Regions from separate parts of the Homo sapiens genome. Here region 1 is linked to region 2. The links are contacts of gene promoters, found by promoter capture Hi-C in human tissues and cell types (Jung and others, 2019). All regions are on one chromosome and are shown on one strand. Each heading gives the region's core, a stretch centred on a gene start or on the middle of the fragment in contact. The rest is flanking DNA. Distances are from core to core; before and after follow the strand shown. Region 1 overlaps LINC02873 (long intergenic non-protein coding RNA 2873). Region 2 holds the start of ADAMTS15 (ADAM metallopeptidase with thrombospondin type 1 motif 15).

Region 1 (4,701 bases), core at 1,228-3,727, 260 kb before region 2:
AATGCTTGTATCAGCCACAAAGATTTTGAATAATTAAATATACCTTCTACTTTGAATAGCTATAAGTTGACTTTAAAAATAGAATAGAAAAAAGACAAATAATGTTCATAGGGGAAGGCAACATAATTATTGCCTATAGCAAAAACTATTTCAGTAAACTGGTGACAGTGGAAGCCAAATTGGAGTGAAATACAGAGTGAATTAAAGGTAAGAATGTGGAGACAGCCATTTCTACAGACCCTGTTTCATTCCAGACTTATCCTGGGTTAGCTCTGGCTCACAACACATTCAGGGTCACCCTAATTCTCACCTCAGTTCCATAGGAGGAAAATGTCAGAAGATTGGAAGCAAAGCATCCTGGCTCTAGTCCAGCCGCAAGACTAAGATAAATGATTGGAGAAGTAGAAGCACTAAGTCTAAGCTCATATGAATTGGGTCAATATTTTTTTAAACCTTGCAATATTAAGTTATCTTAAAGAGTTCTACATAGATAATTTTCTAATGAGCTAGGAGTCAACTACAAGCTCAGGAAAATAGAGGTAACTTGATGCCAAGAGAATTGAGGCAAGGAGGTGTGAAGGAAGCCAAGAGGAGCAAGGAGGGGGAATTAAAGAACCTGCCCAAAGACAGGATGTGATCAAGCAGCAGTAAAGCCATCAAGGTCGAGCAACAGGAGAGCCAGTGACACCTGGCCAGGTAGAAGCACTCGAGGTGAGCTGGCTGTAGAGTCCAGGGGCATGAGAAACTTACACCATGTTGGGTATAAGTTATAGTGACAGAAGTCATTGCTGGCTAGAGTCCGGGCTTTTAACCATATGCATACAGCCCCAAAATGTCTCTCGCCTCCCCTGTGAGCTATCATTAGTCTCATTTTACATACGAAGGCTTGCCTTAGCCACACAGCCACTAAGTGGTAGAACCAAAATTCAGTCCCAAGCCACTTGACCCAGGGCCTGCAATGCCATTCTGCAAGATGTGAGCCCAGCCAACCTCACTCTTCCCTGCTGTGACAAATCAACAATCAGAGGTGGAGACTGGACCTCTATAGACCCGGAAGTCAGTGCAACGTGCCATTCTCCTGATCATATCATCTTCCACAGCTGGGGGCCTCAGGGGGCGGCAACCCTCATGAGGTCACCGAATCACTCACTCAGCCCTGTTTCTACTCTTGATATAGCAGAAAATTCCTCAGCATAGCTCTCCTGCTGAAACGTCTCTTTCCATCACCTTAAAATCATTCCTTTTACAGGGACTGAGCACCTAAGGCATCTCCAGAAGCAAACCAGAAGCACCAGTTGGTGCAGAGAGAGAAATTAGTTCCTTAACACCCACCCTACCTCCCCACTTGGTGTGGCATTTGGCCTTTAAGGGTTTTGAACCTTCCCACCTATTACAAAGTTTGCGCAGTGGAGAAGAACCAGGGAGGGAAGCGAGCATCCATCACATGTAATTGCATAACATCTCTGACAGAAGCCACTTTTGTCCTCATTCACTAATCCAAACACTCACGATGACCCATGGGCTCTGACATGCAAACAGCAACCTGACTCCATGCAGACTGATGGAATAGGAAGTCAGCCCGAACCGGGTATGCATGTGCAGCTGGATTTGCACATCGTTGTTTGTCTGTGTGTGAAGCTATGTGTGTATCCCTAAGAGACAGCTTGCAGATTCTCCAGCCCTGACTGCTTACTTGGTGCTTGAGAGAGTGGGACACAAGTATCTCATTCCGCTGAGTGTCAGGCAATGTGAAGCGTGATGTCTGGGGACCAATTCGGTTTGTTTGCATCTTTATTTCAACTGAAGCTCTTCCGTTCCCACACACCCCAGAGATGAGGTTCTCGAGCGTCCCGTGGGGCCTGCTGAAGCTATTTTCACAGTTGCTAAGCAATGCTAGGCCTGCTTCAAGCCTGGTGAGCTCACGGCTATGCTGTGGTGGTGTCTGCTGGTAATCTGGACTTAGCATTATAACAACTGAAAAGAGAAAGGAAAGGTGTGTGGGCAAACAGCACACATGAGAAGTGACAATGTGATGAAGGATGAGTTGATGTGGGACCTAGAGCCAGGAGAAGCAGTGAGCACAATAGGTACCATGTGTAGCAACTACTCTCTCCAGGTATGAGCCGGGCACCATGGCACACACGAGTTCATTTAACAGGAATGGCACAAAGGCAGGAGAGGCAGCCACATGAGAGCAGATGCTTGCCCTCTTGGTCACGGTTGTACGAGCTATGGGCTCACGCAGTGCCTGGCACATGGAAAGAACTGAGCAATTATCAATCAAGTAAATGAATCACAGTGTTTAAAAGCAGGAAAGAGCTGTAGCTGTCATCTAACCCAACTTTCTCATTTACTATATGAGAGAACCACTTGAAGAAACTCCCCAGATAAACCCTAAAGTCTATTCCTTGTACACACCTAACTCAAAAGGAGCCCACAAGAAGAACAGAAAAGTTGCAAAAAGAAGAGGGTGGTGGTGTTTCAACCCTGACCTTCCCAAGGCACAGGATCCGGGCATCCACTGGTGACCAGGAAGACAATATGGGAATCATGCCTGACTGCTAAGGCTTGCCAGGGCCTCCCGTCCCCACTGTTACCACCCCCTGCCCTGATACCTCAGGCCTGGGCTGCTGCCACAGGTCCTAGCCATTCACCCAGACTTCCTCCCTTGCTGTCTCTCTCCCAGATTGTTCTGATAACACAGCAGCACCAGTCCCTCTTCCAGCACACAGCCCTTCCCATTGACCTGTCTGGGCTCTGACCCAGCCCCACCAGCCGGCCCTTCTCTTCCTGCAGACTCCTTGCCACCACCCCATGTTCACCCAGCGTCATTCACCCAGAGCCCCAACACCTGCTGCCCTTGCCAGACCAGGCCTCCCTACGCTGTCCACACACAAGCTGATGCAGAGCTGTGTGTGAGCCTTTGACAAGCATCCCTAGGTCTTCCCTCTGCGGTCATGACTTCCCTGAAGACTCTGCTCCCCCAGGGAGCCATCCATTTACATTTTCCCCAGGCTGATCACTTTTGTCATTTGGATTTCTCAGGAAATTTTTTTAAATTGTGGTAAAAGAAATGTAACATAAAATTTGACATTTTTAACCATTTTAAGTGTACAGATTGGTGGCATTAAATATATATACATGGTTGAGCAAACATCGCCACCATCCACCTGCAGAACCATTTCATCCTCCCACACTGAACTCCATACCTATTAAACAACAGTTTTCCACTCTTCCTTTCCTCCAGCCCCGCATATAATGGAATCATGTAATGCTTGTTCAATTGTGCCTGGCTTATTTCACTTAGCGTAGTATCTTTAGGTTCATCCAGGAGGTAGCATGTATCAGAATCTCATTGTCATTTAAGGCTGAGTAATACCCCATGCATATGCCCACCACAGTTTGTTTATCCATTCATCCATCAATGGACATTTGGGTTGTTTCTGCCTTTTGCCTACTGTGAATAAAACACTGCTATGAACATTGATGTACAAATACCTGCTGGAGTTCCTGCTTTCAATCCTTTGGGCGTATGTTCAGAAGTAGATTTGCTGGATCATAGGATAATTCTGTTTAATTTTTTGAGGGCCTGCCATACTGTTTTCCATAGCACTGCACCATTTTGCATTCTGAGCAGCAATGCACAAGGGTTCTAATTTCTCCATATCCTTGCTAATACTTGTTTGTTTTGTTTTTATTTTTGATAATAGCTATTCTAATGACTTTGTGTAATTGTGGTTTTGACTTGCAATTCTCTAATGATGAGTGATGCTGAACATCTGTTGATGTGCTTATTAGCCATCTGTATAATCTTTGGAGAAACGTCTACTCAAATCCTTTGTCCGTTTTTTAATTGGGTTGTTTTTGTCATTGAGTTGTAAGAGTTTTTTTTTTAATATTTTATGGATATTAATCTCCTATCAGATATATGATTTGCCTATTTTCCTCTATTCCATGGGGGAAGAGTGTCTCTTCACGCTGTTGATCATGTTCTTTGATGCACAAAATTTATTGATTTTAATAAATCCAACTTACCTGTTTTTTTCTTTTGTTGACTATGCTTGTAGTTTCATACCTTTAAAGATCATTGCCATGTCCAATGTCACGAATCCTTTCCCCTATGTTCTCTTCTAAGAGTTTTCTATTTTTAGCTCTTAAATTTAGGTCTTTGATCTATTTTGAATTAATTCATGTATATGGTGTTAGGTAAGGGTCCAACTTAATTATTTTGCATGTATCCAGTGTTCCCGATATTATTTGTTGAGAAGACTTTTCTTTCCTCATTGATGGTTTTGGTACCCTTGTTTAATGTCACCTGATCATATATGCAAAAATTTATTTCTGAGCTCTCTATTCTATTCCACTGGTATAGATGTCCATCTTTGTGCCACTTTCAATCTGTTTTGATTCCTATAGCTTTGTAGAAAGTTTTAAAATCAGAAGAATAAGTCCTCCAACTTTATTCTTATTTTTCAAGATTATTTTGGCTATTTGGGGTCCCTTGAGATTCCTTATGAATTTTAGGGTAGATTTTTCCATTTGTGCGGAAAACATCATTGGTATTTTGAGAGGAATTGCACTAAATCTGTGAATCCTTTGGGGTAGTGCCTGGGAAGTTTTGAAAACCTTTTCCTGTAGCTATTGCGTTTATGTATGAATGCCTTCTTTATCCATCTAGATGGTAAACTTCTGATCATAGGA
Region 2 (4,269 bases), core at 1,600-4,099:
TGCTTGCAGAGGCTGGGCAGTGGCAGCTCAACAGACCTCAGTTGGAAGAATGAGCACAAGGAAACAGACTCAGGCCAAAGACCTCCCTAGAGAAACCAGGTGGTGGGAGGAGAAGAAGGCTGGGAACAGAGGAAGTTCGACTCCAGGAAGGGACTAGCTGTGCCAAATGGGTTACTGTGGAAGACTCCAGCTCCAGACTGTGTGCGCCAGTCCAACTTTGAGTGACCATTTGGAAACAGTGGAGAGTTAGAGCCCCACAGGTAACCAAGGATTCCACGCCATCCCCAGAGTGCTGTGGTTATGATAATAACCAAAAAAAAGAGCATGGCACAGATTCAAGTCACAGTCCCCCAAATCAGAAGAAGAGGCTCACTTGGATGGCTCTTTTCCTCCCAGCCTCCTGTATCTGAGAAATTTCAAGAATCCAAATACTCCTCAGTGCCCAATCACTCCAACACCTGTGAATCTAAACGTTTGCAGATTTGTAGCTTCTTTGACATAGAATATCAGGAAAGGCCTTGCAAAAGGCAGGGCTGCTTCCTGGGCTGGGTCCATCTTTCTAATCCCAATACTCAGTTTCCTTCTAACTCTACAGCTGGAATCTCCAAATACTCTTGACTAAGCTCACACCACTTCCACCCCAGCAAGGGCAGAAGCTAGAGCCCTGAAGTCAAGTGTGGTCATAGGAATTTTAGTGACTTGGGAGCAGGAGCAAGCATGCCCGCTCTGCTCTGTAGTATACATCTGGGCAAACGGGTCACCCTCTGACAGCAAGGATACAGGAAAATTGGAAGAGATTTTCCCAACTCAGCTCCAAGTAAAACTCCACTTGAAACTCCAAGTGAAACAGTCTCAGCTCCAAACAGGTGCCCTAACTACACCGCCTGCTCAGAATGGTCTAGAAGCCTCTTGGACCATGCCCAGCAGAGAAGTCTGTAGGAGAAGCGGCAGTGAAGGAGGGATGCTCGCAGTACTTGAGTCTGGCCTGTCACTGCAACCCACAAAATCTCTCAATGATTCCCTCCACCCCAATCCAGGCTTTCCAGGCCCAGTACAGAGAGGGGACAACGTGTTACCCGAGAGAAATGTAGCAAGCGCTGACCTTGGATCACCTTCAGTTCTACAACCCTTGAAAGGAGACCTCAGGAGGTGTCCGAGAAGACTCAGCCGCCCATACAATAGGGGTGGGCCGTTCCCGCCCTCTCCAACACCATCCTCACGGCGTCTCCTATCGGTCTTGGACACAAACTGCAGCTCCGGGGCGGCAACTTCCTGGGTTCCGGCCCCTCGGCGCCTGATCCAGGAGGCGCTGATTGGCCGCGCCAGGCCAACACCTTCGGAAAGCGCAGGCTCTCCTCCAATGGCCCAGATGCACGTGAGCCGCCGCTCCGCGGAGCGTGGGAGAGGGCTCTCCCTGGAAACTCCACAGAGTTGGAGTCGGAAGAGATCAACGAGGTTTAAACTCGGAGGCATTGCACGATACAAAGGGGATTTGGAGCGCTAGGGGAGGTGACCCTAAAGAACGGGACTATCTGGGTGCAAAGTGACGGCAGATCAACTCACCTGCCTGGTGAAGAGGATGGCAGTGTCCCAGTACTCGGGGTGCTTGTCACTCACTTTGTTCAGCTTCTTCTGCCAGGCACAGAAGTTGCGCAGCGTCAGGGCCGCATTGCCGGTGACCTTGGGCCCGGAGTCACGATCTCTAAGAAGCAGCACCTTGACCACAACGATGTTGATGGGGTTGAGGATGCTGGGATGGCGGTAGAGTCGCGCCGCCGTTGCCAGCAGCGTCAGCAGATAATGTTCCAGGTCCGCGCCGTGGAACTTGACCATTGACTCGTCCGCGACCACCAGCGTCTCCACGTACCGCGGGATAGACACGAAACGCTTGGCGCGCCCAGACCTGCGCCGGCTACGACTCTCCCCGAAGCCCGCCCGCCGCGGCTTGTAAGGGTCCAGGGCCCGTAGGATGGCGGGGTTCCAGCCCGAGGCCACCCCGCAGCGAGAGGTGGGGTCTCCGGAAGGCCCGCCCGGAACACCCCGGCGCTGGAGAAGGTGTGCGCCCTGGCTGTTGCGCTGCGCCGCCGGCGCGCTAGCATTGGGCAGCGGGCTAATGACATACTCGGCGCCTCGGTAGCCAAAGGCTCCGCGGAGCCCCCCGCACAGGCTCACAGCAGCGAACGAGTCCGGCTCGGCGTTCACGTCCCCAGAATAGAAGCAGCGTCGCAGGTCTGAAGAGCCCCCGGTGAGCCCCTGGAGGGGGACGCCCAGATGCTCAGTGGAGAAGGCGGGAGCCAAGAACTGAGCATCCGGCGTCAGGTGTAGGTAAAAGTCCTCCTGAAATGCTGTGATCTGAAAAATGAGTCCCTGATCCCCGGAGTCCTCGGGACCCCGCCAGTAGTAGCGGCGGCCGTTAATGTCCGGGTCCAGTCGGATGGGAACGACTACCTCCCGCTCTGGCTCAGAGCCTCCAGCGGTTCGCCCGGCGAAAGCCAGGGTTAGGATGCCCAGCAGAAGCATGGCGCCGGGCAGCGCACCGCCGCGCTGTGGGAAGGGGCTGGGCCGGGCTCTCCGGCCGCTGCCGCGGTCTCCGTGCAGCCCGCACTCTGGAACCGCCAACGCTACGGGACAGCCGGCAGTTCCCAGAAAGGAGAGCCAAGGGAGGGAGACTCCTCCCAGGGCGGCGAGCGTGCACCCGGCAGCCCGCGCTTCCTACCTGTGCCTTTCCAAGCAAAGCGCGCCCTGGGAGCTTAAGTACAATCGCTGTCAAGTGCAAGGACGAAGATTTGCAGCCGAGAACTAGCGGAAGGTGCCGGGCGGCTTCTCGCAACCGCAGCCACTCGCAGCGCAGCAAGCCAGGCGCTGGGCGAGCCTATTAAAGGCCCCCTCCTCTTTGGACGGCCCAGTCAGCGCCCCTCCCCTCACTCCCCTCCCAGCCTCCCAGAGCTCGCTGCCGGAGCCTCCAGGGGCCACCGGAGAACTCGGTCCCGCCTCCAGAGCGGAGAGCCACTTGGCGGGGAGGGAGTGGCATTGAGCTGAGGCAGGAGGCGTGGGCTGGCCCGAGAAACCGGCGCTGAAGTCTCAGTTTGCGTTTTGCTCTTGGTTATGCCCCACTGTCCCGACGCCTCACTCGCTTCTGCCCCCGCGGACAGCGTTCACTCTCTGGGTCTTAGTCTTTTATCTCAGGGCAGATCAGGTCAGCAGCTAGGAATGAAGACCCTTCACTGACCCGTCCCCAGGCCCACCTCATCCCTGCTGTTGCAACATCCCTGCTGTTTCTTAATCACAGAGTCCCCTAAAAGACCCAGAATCAAGAACCACCCCCCCCCCCGCGTAAATGTCCTATTGCCAGAAGAGCAATAGGACAGGGGCATGGGAGCCCTCTGGAACCCAAGACCGCCTAGCCCCAAGGTCTGCCCTGGGCCCATGGTGTGCTGGATGGGCTGGGGCAAACTCTTCAGTTCTCAGGAATCTTGCCAGCCAGCTGTTAATCACGGACATTATTAAAAATTAAACTAAACACACTTACAATTAAACAAAGTGTATATATATATATGCACACACACACACATACATATATATACACATACATATATATATATACATACACACACACACACACACACACACATATATATATATATTTTTTTTTTTTTGAGACGGAGTTTTGCTCTTGTTGCCCAGGCTGGAGTGCAATGACGCGATCTCAGCTCACCGCAAACTCCGCCTTCCGGGTTCAAGCCATTCTCCTGTCTCAGCCTCCCAAGTAGCTGGAATTACAGGCATGCACCACCACGCCCAGCTAATTTTGTATTTTTAGTAAAGACAGGGTTTCTCCATGTTGGTCAGGCTGGTCTCGAACTACCGACCTCGGGTGATCCTCCTACCTTGGTTTCCTACCTCCTACCTTGGTCTCCTGAGTAACTGCGACCACAGACACACGACACCACGCTAGGCCAATTTGTGTGTGTGTGTGTGTGTGTGTGTGTGTGTGTGTGTGTGTGTGTGTATTTTTGGTAGAGACTGGGTTTCGCCGTGTTGCCCAGGCTGGTCTTGAACTCCTGAGCTCAAGCAATCCACCCACCTCGGCCTCCCGGTGCGGGGACTACAGGCGTGAGCCACCATGCCTAGCCACAAAGTACATTTTTAAAAGGTAATAAATACTCAAAACCCGTCGCTTCCTAAGTATTTGATAATTACTTATGGTCTTGAGCCACCAGAACCGCCAACCCTCTGAGACAGCAACTCCCAGAAAAGAGTGCAGAATGG

What was found. The method cuts DNA at HindIII sites, captures the fragments that hold promoters and counts their contacts. A contact is called where the count stands out against the background at its distance.
Region 1: a fragment that was not itself captured here is called in contact with the fragment with the promoter of ADAMTS15 in region 2 in 1 of the 25 tissues and cell types used here (IMR-90 fibroblasts).

The regions. Positions count from the first base shown.
Region 1 is chr11:130,707,736-130,712,436 of GRCh38, reverse strand. The region is part of intron 1 of LINC02873 (long intergenic non-protein coding RNA 2873); the gene reads right to left. Among named protein-coding and RNA genes, the nearest start is that of LINC02873, 37 kb to the right of the region's middle. The HindIII fragment of the contact is 9,577 bases long and covers 1-4,701 here.
Region 2 is chr11:130,447,225-130,451,493 of GRCh38, reverse strand. ADAMTS15 (ADAM metallopeptidase with thrombospondin type 1 motif 15) reads right to left here and starts at 2,849. Exons shown (of 8, transcript NM_139055.4): 1 at 1,564-2,849. The coding sequence starts at 2,520. The HindIII fragment of the contact is 14,209 bases long and covers 1-4,269 here.